2 separate regions of the Homo sapiens genome follow, and region 1 is linked to region 2. The links are contacts of gene promoters, found by promoter capture Hi-C in human tissues and cell types (Jung and others, 2019). All regions are on one chromosome and are shown on one strand. The core of a region is centred on a gene start or on the middle of the fragment in contact, and the rest is flanking DNA. Distances in the headings are between cores, read along the strand shown.

Evidence for each region. Contacts are between HindIII fragments. The study calls those that stand out against the background at their distance.
Region 1: a fragment that was not itself captured here is called in contact with the fragment with the promoter of SETD1A in region 2 in 2 of the 25 tissues and cell types used here (lymphoblastoid cells and spleen).

What each region holds. Positions count from the first base shown.
Region 1 is chr16:31,237,203-31,241,844 of GRCh38, forward strand. No RefSeq gene overlaps it. Among named protein-coding and RNA genes, the nearest start is that of ITGAM, 20 kb to the right of the region's middle. The HindIII fragment of the contact is 6,547 bases long and covers 1-4,642 here.
Region 2 is chr16:30,954,360-30,959,024 of GRCh38, forward strand. SETD1A (SET domain containing 1A, histone lysine methyltransferase) reads left to right here and starts at 3,395. Exons shown (of 19, transcript NM_014712.3): 1 at 3,395-3,605; 2 at 4,358-4,522. The coding sequence starts at 4,373. ORAI3 (ORAI calcium release-activated calcium modulator 3) reads left to right here. Exons shown (of 2, transcript NM_152288.3): 2 at 1-579. RefSeq lists enhancers at 2,703-3,466, 2,924-3,053 and silencers at 3,654-3,873, 4,014-4,103. The HindIII fragment of the contact is 8,587 bases long and covers 2,478-4,665 here.

The sequences.
Region 1 (4,642 bases), core at 799-3,298, 280 kb after region 2:
GTGAACTACCATGCTGGCTAATTTTTAAATTTTTAAAATATTTTTTAGAGACAGGGTCTCGCTATGTTGTTTAGGCTGGTCTCAAACTCCTGGGCTCAAGTGATACTCCCACCTTGGCCTCCCAAAGTATTGAAATTATTAGCTGAGCCACTGTGCCAGGCCTTGGAGTAGCACTTTAAACTTCCTTCAATAACTTTTCCTTTGCATTCACTATTTGGCTAACTGGTGCAAAAGGCCTAGCCTTCAGCCTATCTCTCAGCCTTTTTTTTTTGAGACAGAGTCTTGGTCTGTCACCCAGGCTGGAGTGCAGTGGTATGATCTTGGCTCACTGCAACCTCCGCCTCCCGGGTTCGAGTGATACTCCTGCTTCAGCCTCCTGAGTAGCTGGGATTACAGGCGCCCACCACCACACCCTGCTAATTTTTGTATTTTTAGTAAAGAGAGGGTTTCACCATGTTGGCCAGGCTGGTCTTAAACTTCTGATCTCAGGTGATCCACCCGATTCGGCCTGCCAAAGTGCTACGATTACAGTCGTGAGCCACTGCGCCCAGCCTCTGTCTCAGCTTTTGAAACGCCTTCCTCGCTAAGCTTAATAATTTGATTTAACATGACGCTTCCTTTGATTTAACATGACCCTTCCTTTCACTTGAACACTTAGAGGACACTAGGGTTACTCATTGTACTAATTTCAATATTGTTGTGTCTAAGAGAATAAAGAGGCACAAGGACTGGGAGAGAGAGGGGAACCACTGACTGGTGGAGCAGTCAGAATGCACACATTTATCCATTATGTTCACCATCTTTTATGGTTGAGGTTTGTGGTACCCCAAAACAATTACAATAGTAACTTCAAAGATCACTGATCACAGATCACCATCACAGATAGAAGAATGATGAAAAGCTTGAAATATTGTGAGAATTACCAAAATCTGACAAAGAGAGGTGCAGTGAGCACGTGCTGTTGAAAAAATGGCACCAATAGATTTGCTTGACGCAGGGTTGCCACAGACCTTCAGTTTGCAGAAAATGCGGTATCCATGAAAAGCAATAAAGTGAACTACAATAAAACAACGCATGTCTGTACTTAATTATATCTTACAGATAAGGGGAAGGTTTCCTTTGACCACACCCCCAGTGCTGATTATTTCTTTTTCCTCCTCATCAGAAGTAATATTGTCAAGTTTAGTGAGTAGTTTTGTTTTATGTTTTGAGACAGAGTCTTGCTCTGTCACCCAGGCTGGAGTGCAGTGGTGTGATGTCAGCTCACTGCAACCTCTGCCTTCCAGGTTCAAGTGATTCTCCTGCCTCAGCCTCCCGCGTAGCTGGGACTACAGGCGCCCACCACCTCGCCCGGCTAATTTTTTGTATTTTTAGTAGAGATGGGGTTTCAGGATGGTCTCGATCTCCTGACCTCGTGATCAACCTGCCTCGGACTCCCAAAGTGCTGGGATTACAGGCGTGAGCCACCGCGCCCGGCCTATTTTTAAAATTTAATTAAAAAAAATTTTTTTGGCCAGGCATGATGAGTCATGCCTGTAATCCCAGCACTTTGGGAGGCCGAGGCAGGCGGATCACCCAAGGTGAGGATTTCGAGACCAGCCTGGTCAACATGGTGAAACCCCGTCTCTACTAAAAATACAATTAGCTGGGTGCAGTGGTGGGCACCTGTAATCCCAGCTACTCGGGAGGCTGAGGCAGGAGAATCACTTGAACCAGGAGACAGAGGCTGCAGTGAGCAGAGATTGTGTCACTGCACTCCAGCCTGGGTGACAGAGCAAGACTCTATCTCAAAAAAGAATTAGCCAGGCATGGTGGTTCATGCCTGTAGTCTCAGCTACTTGGGAGGCTGAGGTGGGAGGATAGCTTTGCACTTTGGGAGTCTCATTTTCAGATATGAAAAAAAAGCCCAGCACGGTTCCAAAGTTAATATCACATCCAATTTAAAGAGACCTGGTGAGGCGCGGTGGCTCACGCCTATAATACCAGCACTTTGGGAGGTCGAGGTGGGAGAAGCATTTGAGTCCAGGGGTTTGTGACCAGTCATAGTGAGACCCCATCTCTCCAGAAAAAAAAAAAAAGGCTGGATATGGTGATGCTCGCCTGGGGTCCCAGCTACTCAGGAGGCTGAGGCAGGAGGATTGCTTGAGTCCAGTAGTTGGAGGCTGCAGTGAGCTATGATTGGGCCACTACGTGTCAGCCTGGGCAATTAGAAGGAGACCCAGTATTTTTTTTTTTAATGTAAATATAAATAAGGTGACCTAAAGTGGTGAAGGAACCCTCCCCACTCCTCTCTGCTGGCTCCTTCAAGGTCAAGGTTAATCAGAGGAAAAGGGGCTGGGTGACACATGATTGGTGTGTCTATGATCTGTGACACCTGTCATGTGCTCTCCTGGGAGGTGTTGGCTTCTTCTGAGGTGGTATAGGCAGACGCTTTCTGGCTGGCCTCTTATGACAACCCCTCAGTCCTTCCTCCCTGCCCCTGCCCCAGGGGATTCCACTCCCGGCAGCCTCTCACTGCCCGTCCCTTTGCCAGGGTAGGCAGCTGTTTAGGGCAGGGGCCGCCACAACACTAGAGCCCGCTCATTTTGTTGGCATTCACCAGGCCTAGGGGTCTCATTTATTCTCACCTATCCAAAAGGACGTGCCCTCCTCTCTCTCCCTGTCTGGCCCCTTCGGGCTGCTCCGGACCTTCTCGTTCCTCCTCCAGAATCCTCTGGGTTGGATGACAGCACTGGTGGATGCCACACTCAGGGGCCTGCATCAGGTTCTCCTAAGAACCTCTTGTCAGCCTTCATCTGAGCCTTCCGGTTCCTGCAGCCCAGGAGAGCCGCCTCCAATCTCCACAAGGGCTTCTTCTTCTTCTTTTTTAATTGTTGTTGTATTGTTTGTTTGTTTGTTTTTGAGACAAGGTCTCTGTCACTCAGGCTGGAGTTCAGAGGTGCAATCACAGCTCACTGCAGCCTCCAACTCCTGGGCTCAAGCGATCCTCCCGCCTCAGCCTTCCAAGTAGCTGGGACTATAGGTGTGCGCCACCCTGCCTGGCTAATTTTCACTTTTTAATTTTAGTAGAAATGGGGTCTCAGTATGTTGCCCAGGCTGGTCAGGGCTTCTTTTGGAGCAACCTCCTCACTTGCTTTGAGGTGTGGGACGTCCCTGTGGGGGCAGGTGAGGAACCACCACAGCTGTCTCATTGAGGTGGGTGATGAGGGTGGAAATTAGCAAGATGGACCTGCTCTCTCACTAGGAATCCTAAAGGGTGTGTCTGCGGCTCGGTTTAGAATGTGGGGCTTTGTATTAATCAGTTTTGTCCTCAGCTTTGGGGCTGTAAACAAAAATTCTATCAATTTGCATTCCAAACAGCACCGTACGAGAATATAGTTTCTCCAAATCTTCTCCAGCACTCTTTTTTTTTTTTTTTTTGAGCCAGAATCTCATTCTGTCGCCCAGGCTGCCAGGCTGGAGTGCAGTGGTGCAATCTTGGCCCACTGCAACCTCCGACTCCTGGGTTCAAGGGATTTTCCTGTCTCAGCCTCCCGAGTAGCTGGGATTTCAGGCTAATTTTTGCCTGGCTAAAATTATCATGCCTGGCTAATTTTTGTAGTTTTAGTAGAGACAGGGTTTCACCATGTTGGCCATGCTGGAGCACTCAATATTATCAAGCTCAAATTCTTATTTCTTTTTGCCAACATGATGGGAAATAAATAAATAGTATCACATGGCTTTTTAAAAGTTTAATTTATATTTTTCTCATTGTATGCATTTATTGACCAGTTATAATTCCTCTTCTAAAAATGGTCTGTTCCTATGCCTTGGCTTTTTTTTTTTTTTGAAACGGAGTCTCGCTCTGTCACCCAGACTGGAGTGCAGTGGCACGATCTTGGGTCACGGCAACCTCTGCCTCCCAGGATCAAACAATTCTCCTACCTCAGCCTCTTGAGTAGCTGGGATTACAGGCGCGCACCACCACGCCCGGCTTTTTGTATTTTTAGTAGAGAAGGGGTTTCACCATGTTGGCCAAGCTGGTCACGAATTCCTGACCTCAAGTGACCCACCTTCCGCAGCCTCCTTAAGTGCTGGGATTACAGTCACGAGCCACCGTGCGCCCGGCTGCTTATTTTCCTTCATGAGTTATTGTGGTTCTTTATATATCTGCATACTTTTTTTTTTTTCTGCTACATACATGTGTGGCAAGTGTTTTCTCCTAATCTGACAGCTTGTCCTTCAACTCTGTTTATGGAGTTCTTCTCCTTGTGTTACAGAGGAAATGTTTGGACAGCTTTGGCTTAAGTGTCATCTGCACAGGGCATTTTTTTTGTGCCTTCACAGTGCCTGAGTGATGGCAACACACTCTCTTGGCACTGCAAGCTCCTTCCATCAGGGTGGGACCTGGGTCCTGAGCATGGATTCTTTGGGTCAACATCCCTGCTGCTCTACCTGGTGGGAAAATCCCTTGTCCCTAAAAGATTTATTTTATTTATTTGTTTTTTTTTTGAAATGGAGTCTCGCTCTGTCTCCCAGGCTGGAGTGCAGTGGTGCAATCTTGCTCACTACAACCTCCGCCTCTTGGGTTCAAGTGATTCTCCTGTCTCAGCCTCCCGAGTAGCTGGGATTACAGGCTCACGCCACCACTCCGGGCTATTTT
Region 2 (4,665 bases), core at 2,145-4,644:
TACTACAGGTGTGTGCTGCCACACCCGACTAATTTTTTTGTAGAGACGGGGTTTCGCTGTTCCCAGGCTGGTCTCAAACTCCTGGGCTCAAGTGAACCTCCCGCCTCGGCCTCCCAAAGTGCTGGGATTCCTTTCTTTATTTCTGTAGAATCTATTTTATGGTTGGCATTTTGGGGGAAGATTTCGATGGGTTCCACATTCTTGCTTTAGTTGTTGTAGAGGGATTTGGGTGTTTCTACCCAAGGCATTGGTCTAGCTTTTCCTACAATGAACCTATCTTTGGAGGTTCAAGCTCCCCACCTTCCCCCACTGTGGTGACCTGTGGCCACTTGCAGAAGGGATGGTGCCTGACCCACTGCCCTAGCCCCACGCTATGCACCAAACTTGTTCTCCCCGTCCTGGTCCAGGGCTGGGGTCTTTAGAGACTGACAGCCTCTGCCCCAGGCCTGAGTCCTTAGCAAGGGTTGGGTAAGGAGGTTTTAAGGGAGAAGGTCCAGTCCTTAGCCCTTGAAATACAAAGCTCTTCTGACACTGAATTTGGATGCACCTTGTTTTATATAATAAATCGTGTTTCACAGATGTCCCTGTTGCTGTGAAGGGGATGCAGGGCAGGCCTTCTTAGGATAACTTTACTTGTTCCCAAGAGCCGGGTGGTGGCAAGTTTGGGTGGACAGGACCTGGGAGGGGAGTGGGTTTCAGGTGTAACCCTGTCAGATGCTAACAAGGGCCAACAGCTTCTGAATGGGGAGAGTTATTCCAAGGCTACAGGCTTTGAACTCTTGTCCCTGAGTTCAGAGTCTCTATCTCTTCCACTGAGTATTTATTTATTTAGAGACGGAGTCTTGTGTTGCCCAGGCTGGAGTGCAGTGGTGCGATCTCAGCTCACTGTAACCTCCGTCTCCCAAGTTCAAGCAATTCTCCTGCCTCAGCCACCAGAGTAGCTGGGATTACAAGTGTGTGCCGCCACACCCGGCTAATTTTTATATTTTTATTAGAGACGGGGTTTCGCCATGTTGGCCAAGCTGGTCTCAAACTTCTGACCTCAGGTGATCCACCTGTCTGGCCTCCCGAAGTGCTGGGATTACAGGCATGAGCCACCACACCCAGCCCTCCCTGAGTGTTTAGTATAAGCACTCTTTTTTTTTTTTTTTTTTTGAGACCGAGTCTCGCTCTGTCTTGCACTGTCGCCCAGGCTGGAGTACAGTGGCATGATCTCGGCTCACTGCAAGCGCCGCCTCCTGGGTTCACGCCATTCTCCTGCCTCAGCCTCCCAAGTAGCTGGGATTACAGGTGCCCACCACCACGCTCGGCTAATTTTGTTTTTGTATTTTTAGTAGAGATGGGGTTTCACCGTGTTAGCCAGGATGGTCTTGATCTCCTGACCTAGTGATCCCCCTGCCTTGGCCTCCCAAAGTGCTGGGATTACAGGTGTGAGCCATCGCGCCCAGCCGAGACAGTCTCACTCTTTTGCCCAGGCTGGAGTGCAGCTGTGCAATCTTGGCTCACTGCAGCTTTGACCTCCCAGGCTCATGAGCCTCCCACCTCAGCCTCCCAAATAGCTGGCACCACAGGACGTCCCACCAACCCAGCTAATTAATTTTTTTTTTTTTTTGTAGAGAGGAGGGTCTCACTATGTTGTCCAGGCTGGTCTTGAACTCCTGGGCTCAAGTGATCCTCCCACCTTGGCCTCCCAAAGTGCTGAGATTACAAGTGTTAGCCACTGCACCTGGCCTCAAGTTTCTTTCTTGAGCAACTACCACATACTAGGGGACTTTCATAGGTTATCTTATTTAACTCTCACAACACCTTAAGCGTTAAGTCTTTATCATTTTCATTTCAGAGATAAGGAAACAGGCCCAAGAAGGCTGAAGATCTTGCCCAAAACCACACAGCTAGTCCATGAAACTGAACTTGGACTATCTACCCCTCACACGGGAATCTCTCTTTGATTTGAGAAAAGGAACCAGTGCCTTTCAACTGGAACAGAAAGGAATCTGATCTCAACACCTATGCCTCCACGTAAATTATTTTTTTCAGCCTTATTTCCCTCAAAATTGTAGAGTCCTAATCTTCTTCTATCTTGTGGTGTGAGACCTTGGATAAGTCTCCCTTCCACCTTTTCCTATTACTTAAAATGGTGAATTTGCATAAACCAGGCTCTAAGGGTCTTTTCTGCACTGTTCGGATGTGTACAAATTGACATCCAAGTTTAAAGGAAGACTCTGAAACTTAGGTCAATGACTTGCCCAAGGCCATATAGCGAGGGCCTGATGTACACATATCAGGAGCTTGGGGCATCCTCAGCTCAGGAAAAGGGACCTCCTGGGAGTGCCTGCGCCCACACGGGATCAAAACGGTGCCCAGCCTTCAGAAACCTCAGCCCGAGTTCCAGGGGTAGGCCTGGGCCGCTGCTGCCCTTGTGCGGAGGCATCCCGTGAGCATAGGGCGCCATAGCCAAAGAAGCGGGCAGTGGGACCATGACGCCAGGAGGACACACCAGTCCAGTCCCGTTCCTGTAGGACCTCGTTTATTATTACAAGGCCCATTTAAGGGCACTTAGGCCCCACTAGGCTCATCAGAAAACCTTGAGGCGGTCCCTGGATTTAACCACTAATGGTGGGTTTGAGTACGGCAAAGTAGGGCACCTTCTACAGGCCTCACTCTCCCCATCTGGCAAATGGGCATCCTAAGCAGCCAGACACCCAAGGGCAATAACGGGAAGGAAAGGTACCCTGCATTTATGTGCGAGGCGGGGCAAACCGCCTGAGTCACCGCTCACGGTTGTGTTTTTCCACCTCCCGGCCGTCCCTCCCATCCGGGTGAGTCCTCGTGGGTCCTCCCGGAGGCGCCCCCTAGTCCCAGGCTCTGCACGCCCTGGCCCCGCCCCTTGACTCGGCCCCGCCCACAGCGGAATCCGCAGATTCGCCAGGTCGGATCCTCAGAATTCCTCGGGTCCCTCGATACTCGGCTGAAAATTCTCATCGGACTCTGAGAGGAGCGCTGGGCTGGAGGCATTTTCCCCAGGGACAGAAGCGGGCTATTCTCTCACTTGGGCCAGTAAGAAAAATCCAAAAAAAGTTGTCGACTCTGCCAGCAGGGATTGGCTAACGGGCCGTTATTTTCTTGACTCCACCAAGGCGGATGAAGGGGAGGCTACGGCTGAGGCCGGGAACAGTGGCGAATCTGCAGCCTCTCAGAATTTGGCAGTGCAAGGAAGGGACGGGGAAGAGAAGCAAAGCGGCGCGCATCCTGTCCAGCGATTCGCCCCGCCCGCCCGGTGAATCTGCGTCTGCAGAACGCGCCACTGAAGGTTCCCCAGCGCTGGCTGGCCTCCTCCCCTCCGCCCCGCCCCTTTTCCTCAGGGACTAGTCGCAGCTTTCGTCGCCGCCGATTCGTCAAGGTCCCGGGCCGCAGCATCTAGATCGTCGTGGCGAAGCCGACTCTCCGGGGGATGCGGCCAATCTCCAAGCTCCCTGGGCCGCAACTTCCGAGCCTCCCAGGGCGCCGGCCGAGGCGAAGCCGCTACCCTCGGCCCCGTGGGTCCCCCGGCAGCGCCTGTGGCGAAAGTGCGAATGCAGACCCTGTGCCCGCTGGGCCTCGCGCAGGTGGCAGTGGTGTTTGGTGCGCGCGCCGGGGAGGTGGTGGTGGGGGGGCGCCGCCGCCGCCACCGCTGCGGGGCCGGGTCTCGCGCTGCCGCTGCCGCCGCCTCGCGCCGCTGAGGTGCCGCGCGAGGTGGGGGGAGGGGGAGCCGCTCGCCGGGAGCGGGTGAGTGGGGCCGCGCGGCGCGCGTGCGCGGAGACCTGCTGGGGGGGGTGCAGAACGCGCCGGGGCGGGAGGAGAGGGCAGCGGTGCACGTTCCCCCCACCCCCCCGCCCGGATTCGGGGTCGAAGCCGGGTCTCGGGCTCGGTCTCGCGGTGTTTCCAACGCCCCGAAGAGGTGCCACCTTTCGGCCGGAGGATCGGGGCGCGGGGAGGAGAGCGGGTGTGTGGGAGCCGTGGCCGGGCTCGGCCCGGGCCGCTGGCCGGTGAGGAGGCGGGAGGGGGCGGGGCCTGCAGGGGGCGGGGGAGGGGTCTTGCTCCGAGGCCAAGTGGGGCGCGCGCTAGGGAGAGCGGGAAGGTAAGGGGGCTCGAGACGGGCCTGGGGGCCTGACAGTAGAGTTGGGAGGTGGAAAGAGGCTGGGTTGTTGTGGCGAAACAGAGGGTACTTGGGGGAGAATCCGGGGGAGCCCCGGGTCAGGGTGAGGGTTGGAAACTGGAGTGATGGGAGAACCTGGAATCGGGGCTAGCCAATGAGGAAAGGCAGGGGAGTCAGGCCCCAAGTCCTGATCCTTCTTGCGTGTCCCTCTTCCCCTAACAGTGTAAATGAGCAAAGATGGATCAGGAAGGTGGGGGAGATGGGCAGAAGGCCCCGAGCTTCCAGTGGCGGAACTACAAGCTCATCGTGGATCCTGCCTTGGACCCTGCCCTGCGCAGGCCTTCTCAGAAGGTGTACCGCTATGATGGAGTCCACTTCAGTGTCAACGTGAGTGCCCGGGTCTTTGGTTGCCATCCGGGGAGCTCCAGGCGCCCGTCCTCTGTGATTCTGTTCAGCACCTAGAACGGTAGCCTGCCTTCTTGAAAGTGGGCAGTTGGACCCAGCTCTTCTGCATGTGTGTGTCCAGATGG